Regions from separate parts of the Homo sapiens genome. Here region 2 is linked to region 1. The links are contacts of gene promoters, found by promoter capture Hi-C in human tissues and cell types (Jung and others, 2019). All regions are on one chromosome and are shown on one strand. The core of a region is centred on a gene start or on the middle of the fragment in contact, and the rest is flanking DNA. Distances in the headings are between cores, read along the strand shown.

What was found. The method cuts DNA at HindIII sites, captures the fragments that hold promoters and counts their contacts. A contact is called where the count stands out against the background at its distance.
Region 2: a contact is called between a fragment that was not itself captured here and the fragment with the promoter of ELOVL3 in region 1, in 2 of the 25 tissues and cell types used here (IMR-90 fibroblasts and dorsolateral prefrontal cortex).

Annotation. Positions count from the first base shown.
Region 1 is chr10:102,224,744-102,228,158 of GRCh38, forward strand. ELOVL3 (ELOVL fatty acid elongase 3) reads left to right here and starts at 1,556. Exons shown (of 4, transcript NM_152310.3): 1 at 1,556-1,906; 2 at 2,883-3,014. The coding sequence starts at 1,806. RefSeq lists a silencer at 1,538-1,587. The HindIII fragment of the contact is 12,375 bases long and covers 1-2,068 here.
Region 2 is chr10:102,307,423-102,310,837 of GRCh38, forward strand. The region is part of intron 3 of GBF1 (golgi brefeldin A resistant guanine nucleotide exchange factor 1); the gene reads left to right. Among named protein-coding and RNA genes, the nearest start is that of GBF1, 64 kb to the left of the region's middle. The HindIII fragment of the contact is 4,534 bases long and covers 1-3,415 here.

The DNA.
Region 1 (3,415 bases), core at 306-2,805:
GCTCTGCCTCCCAGGTTCACGCCATTCTCCTGCCTCAGCCTCCCGAGTAGCTGGGACTACAGGCGCCTGCCACCACGCCCGGCTAATTTTTTGTATTTTTTAGTAGAGACGGGGTTTGACGGTGTTAGCCAGGATGGTCTCGATCTCCTGACCTCATGATCTGCCCGCCTCGGCCTCCCAAGGTGCTGGGATTACAGGCGTGAACCACCGTGCCCGGCCGAACCACTGAAGGTTTTTAAGCAGGAAAGCAGAGCTGTTTTCTGGATGAGCAAACAGAAAGTAGTGGTTTTCCAAGTACAGTCTGAGACAACCTATAGGACCAGAATCTCTGCAGTTGAGGCTCAGGAATCTGGTAATCAGCCAGGTATAGGAACTCTTTTCTGATTGCAATGCAGTGAAGAGCAGAAGCACTGTATTAGAGAAAGAGGCAGTGCAACCAGGTAACGTGACCAGGTGAGAAGTGATGAGGTACAGAGACAAAGAGATGCACTTTTGAGTCACTTAGATGGCACTGATAGGACTTCCACTACACCCTCGCATAGACAGTGGCTGAGGTTCAGGAAATAGAGCTGGGGTTCCTACTTGGATCCTCTGGCTCTAGAGCTTTACTGCACATAGCCATTTATACCCACATCTTGATTTTAATTATTTTATATCTATGTTTCTTAGCACTTTTTGCAAATTTCCACCTTATCTCAAACTGCCCTCAAGCCTTGTATTTCTCCTTCGCTTTCATAAAACCTAGGAAAGAAATAAGGGACAGCCAAGTAAAACTTTTAAAAGTTTTAGAACATTTATTTCTTTGGGGCTGGTTACACAGGCGAGAAAGAAGTAGATTTGGTTAGGGAGAGAAAACAACAGGCCTTGGGGAGATACACTGGCTCTCCCCCTCCCTAAACCCTAAGAGGCCTCCAGGAAACCTGAAGACAATAATTCCAGAAGCCCAGAGGGTGACCCCATTTCCTCTCTCCATGGTTATTACTGTCAGTCTGGAGCAGTTCAGGAATTCAGGAAACTATAAAGAAACCACAACAGCCTCAACAACCCAAACATCAACATCAACAACCTCAACAATAAAACTCCTTAAAATTCATCTCCTTCCACCCACTCACAACCGCAGACTCGAAGCTAGGAGGTGGAAGGGACTACAGAAGCTCTGCGTTGCCCAGGTTAGTATTTGCTCATCACAGGCCTGGGTTTCCCAGGATCTCAGGGAGCCTGGAAACTGACGCCTCCATTTCTGGGTGGGAGCACCAAAGCCTAAGGACACCTTTCCTCTCTCTTCACTGCTAAGCAGGTCAAGATTAAAGCAAACCGAGGCAAAGGCCACGGTTGACAGTTCCAAGGGAACCCGCAAGGCCGCACAGGATGGGGTGGACGTTTTACGGGAGAAAAGGCTGGGGAAGTGGGCGGGCGATGGCCTACGACGGGACTTGGGGCGGGGTGTGCGAAACGCCTGGCAGGCGGGCCCTTGAGTATGACCAATCAGAATGCGGACTGCGTCCCAGGGGCGGAGCAGAGGCGTATCTTGGTCGAGATTGGATAGCGGCGGGGCGCAGGAAAGAGGTCGCGCCAGCCCGGGCAGGCAGCTTTGCAAGTCCGCGTTATATATCGCAGTGGCTGCGCCCGGGATAGCTGGCTGCGCCGCCGCGCACATGCCTAGGTTCGACGCCCTCCTCCCTTTGCCCAGGAGTTCCTTCTGTCCCGGCTCTGTTCCGTCTCGCCCCGAGGTTCACGCCATCCTCGGAGCCCCAGCCTTTCACCCAGCGCCTCCAAGCTTTGGACCTTGACTTCTGCAAAACTAGATGGTCACAGCCATGAATGTCTCACATGAAGTAAATCAGCTGTTCCAGCCCTATAACTTCGAGCTGTCCAAGGACATGAGGCCCTTTTTCGAGGAGTATTGGTGAGACTTTGGGAGAGGGAAAGGCCATGCCAGGGCCCCGGGGCCGGGGCGCGAGGGGGTGGCATTGAATGCCCACAATGATTTTCTTACAGAGCAGAGTTATGGGACTCCCTTGTACTGGCTTCACACTACCTTTGTCCGAGGTGCAGGTAGTATGTGGCACCTCAAAGAGATTAGAGCTGAAAGCAAGCAAGCAGAAATAAGAGGATGAGGGAGAACGTGGAAATATACAGAAGTCAAAGAGAGCGTGTAGTGAGAAGGGTCTTGGAGGCGTGAGGTTGATCTGAAGCCTTACTAGATGACTTCCCCGTCCTTTGTGGCTGTGTGTGCGCGCGTGTGTGCACAGTGCAGGGCCCGGGGGACAGCCTGCCCTTTACAATTATCCCATCGTTCCCCAGGTGCTCCACCGTTCCTGCTGTGGAGAAGGAGGCGAAGTCAGAGAGCTCTTCCAAGCTTTCCCCAGGAAGAGCTCTCTGGCTTTGCCTTAAAGCTCCCCAGAGGTTTTGGAGGCTGACTTTATGCTCCAACCAATTTGCCATACCCCAGCCAGGGAGAAGCTATTGCCACATTCTTCTTACGCCACAGCCCTGGTATGCTTCTAGGAGCCCCAACCAGGGAGAAGCTATTGCCACACTTCTTACACCACAGCCCTGGGCTGCTTCTAGGCGCGGGCCAGACAGCCGTCACCCACCTCTAACCCCACTGAGAGAGCAATAATCACAGAAACCTTGGACATAGCTCCTGCCCTGTGCTAGATACTTTGTATACGTTAATACCCCCAGGAGAGATGTAGTATTCGCGCTCTACAAATGAGGAAGCCAAGGCTCAGAGAATTAAGTTGGTTTTTCCAATGTCACATAGCTAGTAAGTGGCAGAACTGGGACTCCAACCCAGAGCACTCACCTGGAGAGATGAGTGGGCATTTCTCTAATCAGCACCCACCCATGAGCCCATCCCTCTGCCTTCTGCTTGCCAGGGCAACCTCATTCCCCATAGCCCTGATCTACCTGGTTCTCATCGCTGTGGGGCAGAACTACATGAAGGAACGCAAGGGCTTCAACCTGCAAGGGCCTCTCATCCTCTGGTCCTTCTGCCTTGCAATCTTCAGGTAAGACCCCATCCCACTCCCTGCCTCTTCTCTAGATCTTAGACCACCATTCTATCCCTTGAAGCTTTCCCGATTGCATCAACCTCCATCCTGTCCCCAAGTTGCCTTGTAACACTCTCCCCATCTCATTCTCGGCTTTAGTTCCCCTCCCAGCCTTCACCCTCTTCTGTTATATTATCCTGTTTTCCTTCTCTTTTAGACCCCTACCTGGTGGTCTCTGCTTTGTCCCTCTTGCCTTCGTAGAGTCTGTACTCGCAACTAATTTCTCCAGCCTCTAATAGTGTCACCTCCTAACACCCTCTCTCAAGACCCTCCAATAACTTCCCCATATTTTCTCCCCCAAACTCCTTCAGTCTTCCCCTATCCCTCTACACATCTCCTCCCAGGCTCCTAACCCCTCC
Region 2 (3,415 bases), core at 421-2,920, 83 kb after region 1:
TCACAAATCACCAACCTTGGCAAAAAAAAAAAAAAAAGGTCCCTGTGAGAACCGGTGTAAATCAATAAGAAAAAAGCAGATTTCCCAGCTGGGCACAGTGGCTCACGCCTGTAATCCCAGCACTTTGGGAGGCCAAGGCAGGCGGATCACAAGGTCAGGAGATTGAGACCATCCTGGCTAACACAGGGAAACCCCATCTCTACTAAAAATACAAAAAAATTAGCCGGGCGTGGTGGCGGGTGCCTATAGTCCCAGCTGCCGGGGAGGCTGAGGCAGCAGAATGGCGTGAACCCGGGAGGCAGAGTTGCAACGAGCCGAGATCGCGCCATTGCACTCCAGCCTGACTGAGTGACAGAGCAAGACGCCGTCTCAAAAAAAACAAAAAAAACAAAAAATCAGATTTCCCAGTAGGAAAATGGGAGAAAGACTTGAACAGACATTCACAATAGAGGATACCTAAATAATCAGTAAACATAAGAAAAGGTGCTCAACTTCATTAGTCATTAGGGAACTTCAAAACCACCATAGAATACTACTACACATAGAGCAAAATAGCAAAAATGAAAAAGATACACAATATCAAGTGATAGCAAGGATGTGGAGTAACTCAGACTTTCATACCCTAAGGGTAAATAGGGTAAATTGGAAAGCTGGCTGCATCTACAAGAGCTGATTTGCCAGCAATTACATTTCTAAGAATATGCCCAGCAGGTAATCATATATATGTTCACCAAAAGATGTTTATGAGAATGTTTATAGCAGTGTTGTTCACAGAAGCTAAAAAAAAAAAAAAAAAAGAGGAAACTGCCCAAATCTCCATCAGAAATAAAATGGATAAGTAAAATGTGAAAATTCTCATAGTGGAATACTATAAATAAATGAGAATTAGTAAACTACAATATCTTACAACACAGATGACTTTCTCCAGCATAATATTGAGTGAAAGAAGCCAATCCATACCCAAAAGACTATAAATCATGCTGCTATAAAGACACACGCACACGTATGTTTATTGCGGCACTATTCCCAATAGCAAAGACTTGGAACCAACCCAAGTGTCCAACAGTGATAGACCGGATTAAGAAAATGTGGCACATATACACCATGGAATACTATGCAGCCATAAAAAATGATGAGTTCATGTCCTTTGTAGGGACATGGATGAAATTGGAAATCATCATTCTCAGTAAACTATCGCAAGGACAAAAAACCAAACACCACATGTTCTCACTCATAGGTGGGAATTGAACAATGAGAACACATGGACACAGGAAGGGGAACATCACACTCTGGGGACTGTTGTGGGGTAGGGGGAGGGGGGAGGGATAGCATTAGGAGATACACCTAATGCTAAATGATGAGTTAATGGGTGCAGCACACCAGCATGGCACATGTATACATATGTAACTAACCTGCACATTGTGCACATGTACCCTAAAACTTAAAGTATAATAATAATAAAATTAAAAAAAAAAAGAAGCCAAACCAAAGGAGCTTCTACTTCATGATGCCATTTATGTAAAGTTCAGGCAGAGAAAATCAGTGGTTTAAGAAGTTAGAATAATGATTATCTTTGGAGGGATTGCAACTGGAAGAAGTCATGATTGGGATTTCTGGGTCCTAATAGTGCTCTGTGTCTTGATCTGAGTGCCGACTACATGAGTGGTTAGGTTTGCAAAATTCATTGAGTTATGCACTTAATGGTGTTGTCTTATTAGAGCTGATGGAGGAGAGAGGGCTTCAATTTGCACAACTGAGTAATCAGCTAGGCCCAGTCACTAGGTGAACAACTTACTGCTACCAATCAGCCTTAGAGCAGGAATCAAACTCATGTCTCAGAAAAGTTATTAATTACAGCTTGTCTTGGGACTTCCTTCAGAGTCACTCTTGAATAGCTGAAATAGTAAATGTTAAATCTGTGGATGCAAGTGTGTAAATTATTTTAGTCATCAGCTCTAATAAGATGGCCTTTGGGGAAATGAGTATAAGGTCACGAAAATGAAATGGCAAGAAGGAGGTCTACTATTTCTTCTGTAATACTGATTTTTACCCCATCAGGGTCAGTCCCCAGAGGTTGTAAATGTGAAGCTTGTTCTTTTTCTTTAGTAAGCTGAGTTTGTGGCTTTTTAAAGCTTTGCTTCACTGTTCTCATTTGTAAGTGAGATATTGCTTGTTCACCTCCCATAGCTGATGAGGAGATTCTTGTGCACTGTATTTGTTGAGATAAGGCTGGTTTGGGGTTTTGTTTTCATCTTTGTTTTTTAGTTAAATCATAACCTAGTTATGATTTTTGTGTGTCCTTGTTTATGGATCTGGAATTTAATTCATTATTAGTTGTAGAATGAAAGGTAAGATTTTGTTTTACTCTTCTCCTGAATTTTCTCCCCATTCTAGATCTGTTGGCATAAAATTTTAACCAGAAGCTAATTTAGTGATGCTGAGTTAGTCCTAGAAATTAGTTTCAATTCTAGTGTTAATATAGTCTGGGTTTCTAAGTTGTAGAAAAATCTCATTTTTTGGTTCTTGGTTTTCATTTGTATAATTTAGGGAAAATACAACCAACTGTATTTTAAACATATATAGTCCTCATCTTTTCTGTTGGGCTTGAAGAGTTGTACTGGGTATTATGGAACTGGAAAGAAGCCATGTGGATAGTTACGGTATTTAGGTGGATTTGTTGTTGGTAGAAGTGGTGAATTGGAAAAGTGATAGGGTACATATGTTTCGCCTTCAAGGCAAGTCTATTCTTACTGTTTGATGTCAGAGTAAAAAGTGTCAGTAGCTGAAAAAGACAAAAGAATCTTGACAGAGTGGGAAAAGTCGTGCCTCATGTTCTATTGATCAAAAGGAGGTTATATTTTCAAACTAGCTTCCTAAGATGAAATTGAAGCTGTACATGTGCCCTACTTATCCTTGTTTTTCCTGATTTTGGTTTTTCAGATTATTCCTATTAAACATGATATGCTGATTAGCACTGAATATTTTAGGTCTGCTACGCCTGTATTAGTTGAGATTCCTCTTAATTTGTGTTAGATCTCTGTTAGGTCATTTCTACTGCTGGCATTCCCTAGACTAGAGGCCTGCACGCACATTTGTATTCTAATGAGTATAAGCACTAGGTGTTTTTCTTGGCACTAAGAAAACCTTGCAGCATCATTAACCTAGGAGAGATTTGGGGTTTACACATTAACTATGGGAGGTTGATCAGTTTGTGGCCTATACACCAAGACTGTTCTTTATCACCCCCAAGCCACATTTGAGCAGGGATTGAGGAAGGGGTTGATTTTTCTGTTTATTAGAGGTGACATGAGCAGTGGGGCAGCGGCAAAGAGGCCATGTTGCTCTTGCTAAATATACATCCCTGACAGTTGGATAATAGGTTCCAGGAAGTTCAGTGGAAAATTAAAACAAAGCA